2 separate regions of the Homo sapiens genome follow, and region 1 is linked to region 2. Evidence: promoter capture Hi-C in human tissues and cell types (Jung and others, 2019). All regions are on one chromosome and are shown on one strand. The core of a region is centred on a gene start or on the middle of the fragment in contact, and the rest is flanking DNA. Distances in the headings are between cores, read along the strand shown. Region 1 holds the start of SNORD97 (small nucleolar RNA, C/D box 97). Region 2 holds the start of GALNT18 (polypeptide N-acetylgalactosaminyltransferase 18).

Region 1 (7,197 bases), core at 1,372-3,871, 820 kb after region 2:
AGAGGGAACTGTTTAACAAACTCAAGTTGTGTTTTTTTACACTTGGATTACTACTTAAAACCCTTAGGTGTGAGTTAGATAGGTATGTATTTTTGAATACTGATGGTGATTAAAAAGAACCACTGACTTTAGTAGCATTAGATTGAAGAGGTAAATGTTAAGTTCATGGTATGGTTGAAGAGGTAAATGGGAGTGCTTAGCAAGCTGTTCTTTTTCTTTTGTGGAAAACACCGTATTTAGGTCTTGGAAATGCATTGTATGACAGTTTATGTAGACTTGAAAGTTTTGATATCCATGGCATTTTCTGACTCCCAGGAGATGGATGTGACTAGATGAAATCTGTATAACTGGACATTTTTGGTAGACTGTAATAGCTAACATTTAGGTGGTTGTATTTTTCCTAAAGGAAGGGTTCTTGGAGAAGTTTTCATATTTAGTTTAAGCAATGACATTTTCTGTAGATTGTGGACAAAGCCCTAGAAGAGCCAAAGTATAGCTCACTGTATGCTCAGCTATGTCTGCGATTGGCAGAAGATGCACCAAACTTTGATGGCCCAGCAGCAGAGGGTCAACCAGGACAGAAGCAAAGCACCGTAAGTGGTAGTTTTTGTTTGCTTGTTTTAAAGTTGACTTGAAAAATTTCCTTAATAAAGCATGACAATGTCTTCTTTTCCAGACATTCAGACGCCTCCTAATTTCCAAATTACAAGATGAATTTGAAAACCGAACTAGAAATGTTGATGGTAAGACTTATAGCTGATAATAAGTACTACTGTATATTTTCAGCTTAATTCTGAATGTTGGCTTACTTCATTGGTATCTTTTTCAGTCTATGATAAGCGTGAAAATCCCCTCCTCCCCGAGGAGGAGGAACAGAGAGCCATTGCTAAGATCAAGATGTTGGGAAACATCAAATTCATTGGAGAGCTTGGCAAGCTTGATCTTATTCACGAATCTATCCTTCATAAGTGCATCAAAACAGTAAGTGTGACAGGGAAGTTAGGCGAATGTAGTCAGTCGTTTGGAGGAAATGAGTCAATTATTCATCTAAGAGGGAGGTTGACTAGTTAAATACAGATGTGCAACAAAATTTACTAAACAGAATAATTTGAAATACGTGGTGTGTTTGACAAAGTAGAGTTAGAACTGATCAACCAGACTGGTAGAAAGCCCTATACTAGATTCTGTAGGAACTGTGAATGAGTCAGTGCAAACATAAAGGGAAAGAAAGTACTACGCCTAAACCAGAGTAACTAAAACTTTGTCACCATGGCCTTTTATTCTTGTAGCTTTTGGAAAAGAAGAAGAGAGTCCAACTCAAAGATATGGGAGAGGATTTGGAGTGCCTCTGTCAGATAATGAGGACAGTGGGACCTAGATTAGACCATGAACGAGCCAAGGTACGTGTGTAGCTGATGAAAGTAGTACAAGTAGTTTGTCTTTAAATCAAGCTATTGATTTTTGTGACATCATAAGGGATTGCCATATTTAGCCATTAACTGGGTTATAATTTTAGAAGTCTTAAAGCTGTAAATTGAACACATTTGCTTTAGCTCTTCCAATGAATGTATTCTTCTCTTATCAGTCCTTAATGGATCAGTACTTTGCCCGAATGTGCTCCTTGATGTTAAGTAAGGAATTGCCAGCAAGGATTCGTTTCCTGCTGCAGGTAATACTGGTTTCTTTAAATTTGTTGGTAAGCTGAGTTTTTGGTTTAGGAATATTAAAATAAAATTATTTTTCAATTAAAGGATACCGTAGAGTTGCGAGAACACCATTGGGTTCCTCGCAAGGCTTTTCTTGACAATGGACCAAAGACGATCAATCAAATTCGTCAAGATGCAGTAAAAGTAAGATTGGGTTTTGTTTTGTTTGTCACATAGACTCTGTGTGTGTAGAATAGAATGGGTTTCCTCCTCACCCACCCCAAACGCTTGAGGGGTCTGTCTCATCTTAGTGGTGGAGCTTAATGTTTTTAGTGTCTCGTCTTCCACTTTTATTTTTTTATTTTTTGAGACGGAGTTTCGCACTGTCACCCAGGCTGGAGTGCAGTGGCGCATTCTCGATTCACTGCAGCCTCTGCCTCCCAGGTTCAAGTGATTCTCCTGCTTCAGCCTCCCCAGTAGCTGGGACTATAGGCGTGCGCCACCACACCCCGCTAATTTTTTGTATTTTTAGTAGAGACAGGGTTCCACCATGTTGGCCAGGCTTGTCTTGAACTCCTGACCTCATGCAAACCAAGGCTTGGGCCTCCCAAAGTCGGGGGATTACAGATGTGAGCCATCATGCCCAGCCTTGTCTGCCATTTTTGGAAGAAGTTATTTACAGAAATAACATAAATTATGGTTTAATATTCTAGGTTTCCCCCCCTAGTTGCAAGAATTTTAGTTTTAAGTGAAATAGTGTCCAGAGACAAAAAGTGCATATTCACTTCATTTCTAAAGGATCTAGGGGTGTTTATTCCTGCTCCTATGGCTCAAGGGATGAGAAGTGACTTCTTTCTGGAGGGACCGTTCATGCCACCCAGGATGAAAATGGATAGGGACCCACTTGGAGGACTTGCTGATATGTTTGGACAAATGCCAGGTAATTTTGAAAAAACAATGGTTGCGTTAAGCTGAAAAATCAGTTAACTTTAGTTTTGAGAGTTGTCCGTATATGTATTTTAAGGTAGCGGAATTGGTACTGGTCCAGGAGTTATCCAGGATAGATTTTCACCCACCATGGGACGTCATCGTTCAAATCAACTCTTCAATGGCCATGGGGGACACATCATGCCTCCCACACAATCGCAGTTTGGAGAGATGGGAGGCAAGTTTATGAAAAGCCAGGTAAGTAATATTTGAGTGTGCATGTTTTCTAAACCTTATCTGCAACATTTATTTCAAACTGAAATGTTTATCCTTAAGATTAGTAAAGTATTAGTAAAATCACATCACTTTATTTGATAGGTTAGATTTTTATTCTTCCCTGTTTCATCTTTTACTTTCTCTGGGCAAATTCAGTTAAACTAACTTTATGGCTTGGCTCATCCCTTTGGTACTTGATTACCATAATTTGTGGACCCCTTTTTATCTAGACTTTCTTTCTCCTTTTCTGAAATAGGGGCTAAGCCAGCTCTACCATAACCAGAGTCAGGGACTCTTATCCCAGCTGCAAGGACAGTCGAAGGATATGCCACCTCGGTTTTCTAAGAAAGGACAGCTTAATGCAGATGAGGTACATTTGCCTATGTTACTTATATACCATAGTTTGTCCATTCAGAAATTTATTGCCCGATGATTATAAAAAGACGCGTTATTAAGAGGACTTTATGCTGGAGTTCTTGACGTTTTTCTCTCTTTTCTATACTTCTTTTTCTTTCTTTGAATGTCCAGCGTCCTGTGAGCGAAGATTATGAGATATGAGGGCAAGTCTCCTAAAGTCTGTTAGAGCAAGAAAACTGGTTGTCAAAATATTGTGGTTTCTTTCTTTGTAAGGGTGATTTAACTAAGGATAAAACAGGGCATTTTCTAAACTGTAGTTAAATTTGCAGTTTTTTATTTGAATATTTTAGTCATGCTAATTCTAAGAGAATGTAAGATTTATAATAGTATCTTACTACTGTATGCATCAGATCTTTAAATTTTTTGCCAAAAATTAAACCTGTTAATGTGGAGTACCTTCTTTAGTTTTTCAAAAAGCTTAATGTTTCCCTAGATTCTGTCACTGTATAGGATTTTAGAATGTTGTATTTAATATGTTCGCCAACTGCATGTTGTTAATTTAGATATATTTTGTTTTCAATTCCAGATTAGCCTGAGGCCTGCTCAGTCGTTCCTAATGAATAAAAATCAAGTGCCAAAGCTTCAGCCCCAGATAACTATGATTCCTCCTAGTGCACAACCACCACGCACTCAAACACCACCTCTGGGACAGGTACAGACCATAGTAGGACAGCATTTTCTAAAGATATCTGAAGACTTTTTTCTAAATTTAGTGTGTTCTTCCCCCTAATTTCATAGTCCTCTTTTTAAAAAAAGTCTGTCATTGCTTGTTTTTTAGACACCTCAGCTTGGTCTCAAAACTAATCCACCGCTTATCCAGGAAAAGCCTGCCAAGACCAGCAAAAAGCCACCACCGTCAAAGGAAGAACTCCTTAAACTAACTGTAAGTTTCAAATATCCCATTTTAGTGTAATTAGCCTGTATTTGAGATAGAGAATACATTAAAGATACTTGTGTTCTTCACAGGAAACTGTTGTGACTGAATATCTAAATAGTGGAAATGCAAATGAGGCTGTCAATGGTGTAAGAGAAATGAGGGCTCCTAAACACTTTCTTCCTGAGATGTTAAGCAAAGTAATCATCCTGTCACTAGATAGAAGCGATGAAGATAAAGAAAAAGCAAGTTCTTTGATCAGTTTACTCAAACAGGAAGGGATAGCCACAAGTGACAACTTCATGCAGGTAGGACACTTTACTGATTGTGTGGTAAGAACTCTTACCACTCAAATTCGAAAACTGATAAACTGTTGTATATTTCTTTCAAGGCTTTCCTGAATGTATTGGACCAGTGTCCCAAACTGGAGGTTGACATCCCTTTGGTGAAATCCTATTTAGCACAGTTTGCAGCTCGTGCCATCATTTCAGAGCTGGTGAGCATTTCAGAACTAGCTCAACCACTAGAAAGTGGCACCCATTTTCCTCTCTTCCTACTTTGTCTTCAGCAGTTAGCTAAATTACAAGATCGAGAATGGTTAACAGAACTTTTTCAACAAAGCAAGGTCAATATGCAGAAAATGCTCCCAGGTAAGAGAATGCTGACTTGTTTGTTTTGTTTTTTTAATATTATATCTAGAGATTTCAGGTACCTTGAGTGGATTTATGTAGGTCAGACAGTCTGATTGTCCTGCTCAGATAATGATAAACATTACCACAGATCTCACCTATAAAGAGAGATTTATAATTTAACTACTTTCATTTGATCCGTATGTTGAGTTTTTTTCATTTGCTGGGTTGGTTCTCTATTCTGCTACATGGATCTTACATACTTGGGGACATCATTTGTGAAGCTCTGCTCTCTGGACAGGACAACTTGGTAAAATGAACTATTAGATGATGCAGGTGGCTTTGTCTCTTCAGAAATTGATCAGAATAAGGACCGCATGTTGGAGATTTTGGAAGGAAAGGGACTGAGTTTCTTATTCCCACTCCTCAAATTGGAGAAGGAACTGTTGAAGCAAATAAAGTTGGATCCATCCCCTCAAACCATATATAAATGGATTAAAGATAACATCTCTCCCAAACTTCATGTAGATAAAGGATTTGTGAACATCTTAATGACTAGGTAAGACGAATGGTTTTCTGCATATGGTAATGTTTCATGTACTGGAAAAGAAGCGTAGGAGACTAAGAGTTGTCTCTTGAGCAAGAAAACTCACTGTTGGGTTCTAACAAGACCTCTTTCTGTCCAGCTTCTTACAGTACATTTCTAGTGAAGTAAACCCCCCCAGCGATGAAACAGATTCATCCTCTGCTCCTTCCAAAGAACAGTTAGAGCAGGAAAAACAACTACTACTATCTTTCAAGCCAGTAATGCAGAAATTTCTTCATGATCACGTTGATCTACAAGTCAGTGCCCTGTATGCTCTCCAGGTGCACTGCTATAACAGCAACTTCCCAAAAGGTGAGAGGACTTGTATCAGAAGAACGGCGTGAGGAAGTTCTTAAACAGAACACTAAATAATGGGCTTATTACTTTTTTCTTTTTTTTTTTTTTTTTAAGGCATGTTACTTCGCTTTTTTGTGCACTTCTATGACATGGAAATTATTGAAGAAGAAGCTTTCTTGGCTTGGAAAGAAGATATAACCCAAGAGTTTCCGGGAAAAGGCAAGGCTTTGTTCCAGGTAAGTCTTTTGTTAAAAATTTGGTCTGCTTACTTCAGTTTGCTTGGTATTAACTTCAAGTTAAGAGCCTTTTTCAACTGAAATACAGGCAAGGTAGTCCTAGTTAGTAGTTTGTCTTCACCTGTACATTTCATTCTGCACTATTTGAAGCTATTATTAAGTAAAGCTACACAATGAATCAATTCTAGTGGTGTATAAGATGTTAGAGGTAGCTAACTTTTCAAGGAGTATAGCTACTTATATACATGGGAGTGACTGTACAAGTTTCGATTTAAGCTTTTTTAAAAACATCAGTAAAGAGGAAATTGTAGCTGGGCACGTGGCTCATGCCTGTAATCCTAGCACTTTAAGAGGCTGAGGTGGGAGGATCACTTGAGCTCAGGAGTTCAAGACCAGCCTGGGCAGCATAGTGAAACCCTGTCTCTAAAAAATACAAAAAATTAGCCAGACGTGGTGACATGTTCTGTGGTCCTGGTCCCAGCTACTCGGGAGGATGTCTTGAGCCCAGGAGGCAGAGGTTGCAGTGAGCTGAGATCACACCACTGCACTCTAGTCTGGGCAACAGAGTGAGACTGTGTCTCAAAAAAAGAAAAAAAGTTTAAATACTATATATTTTTCTAAAAAGAGGAGATGTTTCTGATTTCTCACAATTTGATTTTTTCTTATTGAATGAACTTGTAGCCCTAGGGGAAGAACATCAGGGCATTCTCTCAAATCACCTGAAGAGCAGTTTAAAAAGCAGGTTCCAGGCCTATTCCTAGAGATTCTGGTTTAGTAGGTCTGTGGTACAAAATCCAGGTGATTCTTTCTCATGCTACTAGTTTTCCAGGGGGCCCAGGCTTGAGAAACATTGGTCCTGCAGCATCTTCCTACCTTTTTATTGCTGATGATAAACAAGATTCACGAGGATCATCCTTGCAGGATTAAATCTTTAGCTCTGTGTTGTCCCAAATCTGGATAATATACCACTGTTCGTTAACTTAATATACAAATTGTTGGTAGGGATATCCTTGTTTCATATTCTAAAACTGTGTAGTACCACCTAAAACTTTTTGGATGGATTTCTGTTTATATCATGAACTATTTTAATTTACAAATCTTAATTTATAGGTGAATCAGTGGCTAACCTGGTTAGAAACTGCTGAAGAAGAAGAATCAGAGGAAGAAGCTGACTAAAGAACCAGCCAAAGCCTTAAATTGTGCAAAACATACTGTTGCTATGATGTAACTGCATTTGACCTAACCACTGCGAAAATTCATTCCGCTGTAATGTTTTCACAATATTTAAAGCAGAAGCACGTCAGTTAGG
Region 2 (7,402 bases), core at 1,007-3,506:
TATCTGGAAGGAAACTCACATGATCCTAACCACTCACTATGTGTCCTGCACTAATTAAAGCCCTTTCTGGAACATTCTCTCAGTTAATTTTCACAGCCTGTCCTCAGTAAGGTATTGTCTACCTACATTTGATACATGGGAGAAATTGAGCCCTACTGACTTTTTGAAATGTGTCCAGGCTCTCATAACTAATACATGGTGGATCTGGGATTAGAACCCTGGAGTCTGCCTGCACCTCCAGAGAAAATTCTTTGAACAGGTCAACTCAAACCTGTGACTTTTCAGAGAGGAGAACCTGTTCAGCATTCTTCTTTTGTTGTATTCATCCCCTCTACAGTTACACATTATCTTAGAGGATCAGCTGTACAAAATTTAAGATCACACAATTCACTTTGTTTTCTTCTTGACCCTCATTTTTTTAAACTTGGGATTTAATTTTTTTCCATTAAGAATGTGAAAAGAATGAGTATTGCCTTCTCTTTCTAGTCCTGTGGTGGTTTAGGAAGATCCCAAGAAGGGCTGAACTTCCAGGGCTCCTCCTGGGAGAGGGGGCAGAACAGAAGGAAAGATTACACCTTAGCCTGTACTCAAGGGCATTGCTTGTAAGTCTGTCCAACCAGAAGAAAGTTCAGATCCTTTATTTGTGAGCTGGATTATACCTCTGGAAGAGAAAAAAGGGAGAGACAAGTTTTACTCCCTCCTGGAGGCAGATTTCTCTACCTTGATTTTTTCAGAAATTGTGTACATTCTCTCCTCTCATGTATGTATCTCCTACATACCATACACACGATTCTTCTCCCCCTTCTATACCCCAGCCCACGCCAACCCACACCCACTGTTCTCTCTTCCAGCTATGGATCAAGGGAAATCTTCCCGGGTCCCTAGTTGGTATCTGTTTTCATAGCATCTTTGGGGAGGTTTTGTAAACAAAGCATTGGTAGAAGGGCCCTTGGCTGATGGGGCCATAAAGTGCCCTTTCTTTGGTTTTGTGCTCTCCCTCTCTTGTGGGGCCAGTCATTTGAATCCAGAAGATATCCCAGGATGGAGCTGCCCTGAGTATTTCTGTGGCTGGTTGGAAGGCTGGCACACAACAAAGTGGGCATGCAGCAGGCTGCCTCCCTGGCTTAGGCCAAAAAAATAAAGCAACTCAGAGATGGAGAAGAGGCAGGAAATCTATGTTGTAAAAAGTCTTTGTTTAAAGGAATTCCGTTCAGGTGCTGAGAACGGGGTGTTCAGCAGAAGAGGATAATATGAGTAAACATTGGCAGTAAGAACAAACACAGCAGTATCACTGTCTGCGTCTGGCCTCCTCCTGTGCTCAGTCACAGGTCTCTCCCACCGCCCTCTATGATAGCAATCATAAACAACATGTAGAAGGGCTTTACAGTTCACAGACCTCAGTTCCCCTCAGCGGCACTTCCTTGCAGGGTTTCTTTATGCACTGGATGACCCTGGTTCCACATAAATGAAAACTGGGCTTAAAGGACACATCCATGTCCTGGGAGCTGTACAGACTTAAAGAAAAACCTAGATAGGGGCAAAAATTGGGGCAGGCGGTGGGGGTGGGGGGTGGGGGGTGGGGGGGGGGAAGAAGTGGTCGAGAGAGTCATCTAATAGGTCACCAATGTTGCTTCTGGGAGGTTGCCGGAGGGTTGGCTCCTTTCAGCCAGGTTTAGGGCCAGGTCTGGACACACTCAGGAGGCCGGTGGCTGAAGGGCAGAGGGCAGGGTGGAGGCCCAAGTGAGGCCAAGGAAGGAGTGGATGCCGCTGGGGCTGGCACTTCCTTGGCTTCTCAGCGTCCTGGCAACCAAGAAAAGATTCCAGGAGTCGACTGGTGGCACCAATGCGAGAAGCCCCGGGCGGATGAAAGAAGCTGACCCGTGCGAACCCCCCACCCCCTCCACAAAACCAGGAGATTCCTGCCCAAGAGCAAGAGATGGAATTCCCCTAACGGAGGAAGCTGCCGACCTAAGGGCTGGGACTGGCAGCGCGCCCTCTCCGGGAGCTTCAGGTCTGGGGCAGCCTGTGCAGGCGCGGGTGGAGGCCCGGGCGCGTCCCTGGGGGCGGGAGCCAGGGGCGGCCAGCAGGTGGGGCCTGGGAGCTGGACTCCGCCCCCCGCTCCCTCCCCGTTGGTCCGCTGCCGCTCAGCACCGGCCCCTCTCCCGAGCCGGAGCGCGATTGGTGGCAGCGCTTGTCGCTCGGAGGGGGCCGGGCCGCTCTGCTTCGCGGCTCTCCCCGCCGCCGCTGCCGCTGCCGCTGTTCTCCTAGCAGCGCGGGCCGGTCGGACCGCCAAGGCAGCCGGCGCTGGCGATGGGAAGCGGCGTGGCCGCCGACACAGGCAGTGGCAAAGTTTCCCAGACGTACACATCTGGACGCGCGGCTGCCGGCTACCCGTGACCCCTCTAGGAAGGGTTCAGGGATTTTTAATTTGGAAAAAAATCCACCTGGTTTCCTTTGTCAAGGTCTCTCCGGGTGGCCAGCGGCAGGAGCTGCAAACTTGGGCACGGCGGCTACACCGGCAGCGGACCGGGCTTTGGAGAACCTCGGGACTCAGGTGCTGAGGTGCCCAGCGGCTCCGGACGTGCTACGGGGTGCGAGCGCGGGGGAGTTCGGGGCGCACGACAAGGAAGGGCCCCCGGGAGCTCTATATGGAGGAAGGAGCCCAGAATGGTGTGCACCAGGAAGACCAAAACTTTGGTGTCCACTTGCGTGATCCTGAGCGGCATGACTAACATCATCTGCCTGCTCTACGTGGGCTGGGTCACCAACTACATCGCCAGCGTGTATGTGCGGGGGCAGGAGCCGGCGCCCGACAAGAAGCTGGAGGAAGACAAAGGGGACACTCTGAAGATTATTGAGCGGCTGGACCACCTGGAGAATGTCATCAAGCAGCACATTCAAGGTACGGGCGCCCCGGAAACTTGGGTCGCCCATGAGGCCCGGGAGTGCCCCGCGCGGCGCGGGGTGCGCTGGGGCTGGTGCGCATCAACTCAGCCACGGCGGGGCTCTGGGGCCGCAGATGCGTGGTAGTCGTGGGGCCTGCGTGTGAGCTCCTGCCTGCGTTCGGGACCTTCTGTCTGCGGCCGTGCGCTCTTCCCCGGGGCACACGTGTGTGCGCAGGGCTGCACGAGCGGATGTGTGCAGCTAGCTGGCGGTATGGGGGCGCGCTGCGCACGTGTCCAAATGTGCGTGTGACTCTGGGCTGGTTGCTCGCGGGCTCTCGGGATCGCACACAAGTCCGGCTCAGAGTGTGTGTGCATGTGAATGTCTGTGTGTGTACAAGAGGGAACGCGCGGGCAAACGAGCTTTTTTGGCCACTGTAGGCGTCAGGCGAGATGCCCGCGCGGCGGCCCTGACTATTGGCAGTTAAGACCCGCAGGCTGCCGGACAAGCGAGGCTAGGAAAATTGCGTTGTATCAGCCCCAGCCCCAGTCTTGCTGTGATCCCGTTGGTAGGCGATAGGGAATGCAAGGAGCCCTCTGTGGTTGAAAAGCCGCTTGAACCTATAGCAGTCCCTACCCCCACCACAGCCCGCGGGTCCAGGACCCTCTCCAGGAGCAGGTGTCAACGCCGGGAAGTAGCGCTGGAGTCTCTGTCCACTGTGGTGATGACTCCGCCCAAGACTGGAAGAACACGCCCTGGGCTGCGCCTTCCCCGCGGAGCCGCCCGGGACCGGGTGAAGGCCGATCCCTACTGTAGCTCCACTCTCAGGCCCTGGGAGCAGCCGGGGCTGAGCAGACCTGGGTTGGGTCTGAAGTGTAAGGTTACGCTGGTTGGGTGCGCTCCAGACCAGCGCGGGGGTCCAAAGGGAGGGTGGGGGTTGCAGGGCGCTCTCCCGAGGCGACCTGGTCAATGAGCTGTCATGGGAGGGAATGGAGTTCCGGGCGCCAGGAGCACTGGTGCCGGGTGTGCACACACACACACACACGCGCGCGCGCGCGCGCTCACGTCCACACTTCCTCCCCTCCCCGCGCCCCCTGCTTTCTTCCAGGTGTGTGAGCTTCTTAAGGGCAGGGCCGAGCTTGGTTCCCCTGTAAACCTAGCAGGCCCACCAGGCTCAGGGGCCAGTGCATGGCAGACCTTGGCAAAATCGAATTGAACTGAAGGCTTACCCCCCACCCCCCCGCCAGGAGCACTCCCTTTTGTTTACACGTGGATGTCTGAATTCCAATCCTTGCACCTGCTGCTCTTGCCAGAGTAGAGATGGCTCCTCCGTCTGAATTTGGTGTTTCCCCAGGTGTCCAGAATAGTTCCTTTCCAGGAGGGGAAGGTTCAGGGAGGTTCAGGTGAGTGCAGGAGAGGCATCCACATCCATAGTGCTTCCTGACTAATGACTTCAAAACAAGCCCATGGCTTCGGCACCTTCCCAGAAAAGAGGGACATTGACAGCTTCTTCTTCAGACCTGCCTCTGCCTCTCAACCTGGCACTGGGCTTGAAAACCAATTTACCTATCTGTGGGTGCCAGTTGCTGTTATTTCTTACGTGTCCTTTTCCATCCCATAGGTCTTGATTGACTATTAATCAGCAATAGAAGTACAGTGTTTCCCCCAGGGTGATTCAGAATGTTCCCCAGGAGACACAAAGCCATGCCTTACTTTGACATTTCTAGTTTGCCGACAGATTTTGAGATTTTCATTCACAGATTCTGTGTGTGTGTGTGTTCCTGGAAAATGATTCTCTTGTGCTTTTCTTTCTGGTCAGGCAGGAGGTGAGCAAGGTACTGCTTTGGGGATGCTTTCAGGGGATGCCATTAACCCCTGAGCCTGTAACGGAGTGGGTGCCAGTCATGTGGAATGTGGACCATGTCACATGATTTCTAAGGTTCCACATGGAAAAGCATGATGTTGAAGTTGAAAGGAAGCATTGTGATTTTTCTCCCCGGAAACTTTATAACTATGTGTTGTTCAGCACTTTCAAATCTATACCTGAAAAATTGGAGAAGATAGGTTAAAAAAATAGGAGACAGGGTCCCTAAAACACGTGTTGTTCCACTTGTACACGTGCAATGACCCCTGTGGGTATTCAGAAATAACCACAATCTCGACAGAGGGCCAAAGCTGCCACCTATAGGAAGGTAGGGAAGGGTCAGTGACTTGGAAAGACTGGAAATGAGGCAGGCAGGGGCAGAGGTTACCAGGTTGGCTGTGCCATGATGGTGTAGCAATGACCAACAGTTCCCTTTGCCATGCTGGGGCCATCCTGAGCTGGGATTTAGGAAACAGAGGTAAAGGGCCTATAAAATTTGGGGCTGGTCAAGTGCAGCTCTCTGAAGGCAGAGGGTGGTAAAGGACAATAAGATCAAGCTCTTGTGCTTGATGGTACAAGCTGTTTATGTGTAACCCACTGTCAAGTTCCCTCTAGTCAGCATAGCCCTTTGAACAATCCAGTTTACTTTGCTGAACTGGAGGGAATAAGCGGTAATAATAATAAGAGCTAAAATAACATAGCACCTAGGATATGTCAGGCCCTATTCTAAACACTTTACATATATTGACTTATTTAATCTTCACAACCTTATGAAGTAGGTAATATTTGCTCCATTTTACAGATATGGAAACTGAGGCAGGGAGAGGGTATATGATTTGTCCAGGGTCACACACTGGTATATGATAGTATAGGGATGTAAGCTCAGCTAGTGTGGCTTCAGAAGTCTAAGTTCTTACCCACGTACTAAACTGTCTCCCAGGAGGGCCCCAGGGTCCCTTGGAGTCTGTTGACAGTGGTGGAAGTGGGTGTCAGAGGATGGCTGAGGGGTGAGGGAGTCAGCAGCCTTCCCACTTGGAAACTCCATAGATAAACTCAGGTTTTGCTTTGTTTCATGCCAAGAGGCAGAGGTTCCAGTCCTTTAACTAATGTTTACTGAACATGCAGGACAGTCCCTGGCACATTCTGCAGAAAGTAGCTGTGGGGTGGAAGCGTGGATGAATGGATGAGTGCTGATGCCTATGGCCACGTTGGTTATTAATGAAAGTGTTACCACTCTCCAAAAAAGGTGTTTTGCTTTGGAGTCTTGTCCAGGCTCCTCTTTTTGTTAGAAGGAAAGTCTCCTTGAAGCTGCAAATGTCACAAAATGTTCTGCAGGATGTTCCATAGGACTTGCAATTAGAAGAGGCTTTGGAGCATCACCCCAGAGGTCTGTTCTAGTCATGACTGAAAAGTTTATTTTCGTCTTGGGAGTTGCAGTGATATTTCATTTTAATTTGTTTTCTGATTGAATGATTTAATTAGATGGTGTTTGGGAATCTCTTGGGAATGTAAATTGCAGTTTTGGGAAGTTTTTTGACCAAATAGACGTTAAATGAGAGGGTGGATAACTTATGAGTTTTTAAAAAAAGCATCCTGGGGGTTTAGAAACACAAAGTAAATGTTAGTAAGGGTCAGGTTCTCTCCATCTTAGGAGTAGAAAGATCTGATGGCTTGACACGGTGAGGCGGATGAAGCAAGAATCTGCTAAAGGAGTTCTCAGTGTTGGAGAGTGCAGGAAATGGAAATGTTGATTCAGTTCTTATTTTGGAAATTCAGTAAAAATAAAGATAGCTTTCTTCTTTTCTTAGTAGCTTTCTGAATATGGAAAAGAATGTGCCAATGTTTAAGAAAATATTTAAAAATGCATAAAATTGCCCATAATTCATTCTACCCTAAAAATCAGTTTGCATTTTGAGCATTTCCTTCTGGATTTGTTCATTTGCCTCCATATTTCAAAATGAAGGTGTAGTCATGATTTACATGTAATTTTATATTCTGCTTTGTTCACTTTCTTTTTGTTAACGAAGCACTATTTTTTCCATATTTGCTACATAGTTTATTGGTTTAACATTTATCTGTTGGAGACCTAATGTGTGCCAGACACTGCACTGAGAAAGTGATTACAGTGGTGAACTGTATACTAGAGACACTCTACAGGAGTATGGGCACTCTTGGTCCTTGTCATAGCGGACTTGTTTTCAAAGGACAAAGAATCCCTTTTAGTCAACGTGGTCAGGGCTTGAGTTAGTTAATAGAAAAATTGGTTAAAGAGGAGAGTACAACAAAGTATTACATACATACAATTAAATATTTTTATTTTAATGTTTTCCAAAATGTACATTCATTTGCTAGACTTTTGATATCAGGCCAAAGTTCTGTCTTTGGGATGCATCTGCCAATTGGCGTCCTGTTCATCTTCCTTGCACAAACCACTCCCATAATATCCCATAGTTCTGTTTTCTTTAAAATTCATTGGAAACTTAAAGGTGCTTATGAAGCAGTCTCAGTGTAGTAGCCTAAATTGTTACGATTTTTGTCTGATCTTTTGCAATGATTTTGCTCACATGTAATTTGATTGCTATTCTTTAACTGACTACCGTTTATAAAACCTTTGCAAAGCACTTAGAACTTAAAGTAATTTTCTTAGAAACAACA

What was found. Contacts are between HindIII fragments. The study calls those that stand out against the background at their distance.
Region 1: a fragment that was not itself captured here is called in contact with the fragment with the promoter of GALNT18 in region 2 in 1 of the 25 tissues and cell types used here (aorta).

What each region holds. Positions count from the first base shown.
Region 1 is chr11:10,797,683-10,804,879 of GRCh38, reverse strand. It overlaps EIF4G2 (eukaryotic translation initiation factor 4 gamma 2), which reads left to right. Exons shown (of 22, transcript NM_001418.4): 6 at 462-593; 7 at 677-743; 8 at 830-981; 9 at 1,290-1,400; 10 at 1,586-1,669; 11 at 1,752-1,850; 12 at 2,445-2,586; 13 at 2,671-2,831; 14 at 3,106-3,219; 15 at 3,793-3,918; 16 at 4,045-4,149; 17 at 4,233-4,448; 18 at 4,532-4,790; 19 at 5,124-5,328; 3 more. The coding sequence ends at 7,064. SNORD97 (small nucleolar RNA, C/D box 97) reads left to right here and starts at 3,272; the gene lies at 3,272-3,413. The HindIII fragment of the contact is 4,428 bases long and covers 408-4,835 here.
Region 2 is chr11:11,616,859-11,624,260 of GRCh38, reverse strand. GALNT18 (polypeptide N-acetylgalactosaminyltransferase 18) reads left to right here and starts at 2,256. Exons shown (of 11, transcript NM_198516.3): 1 at 2,256-2,902. The coding sequence starts at 2,668. RefSeq lists silencers at 1,954-2,313, 3,064-3,143, 3,164-3,233 and enhancers at 1,816-2,316, 2,434-2,513, 2,724-2,773, 3,514-3,743, 3,406-4,375 and 1 more. The HindIII fragment of the contact is 13,654 bases long and covers 1-7,402 here.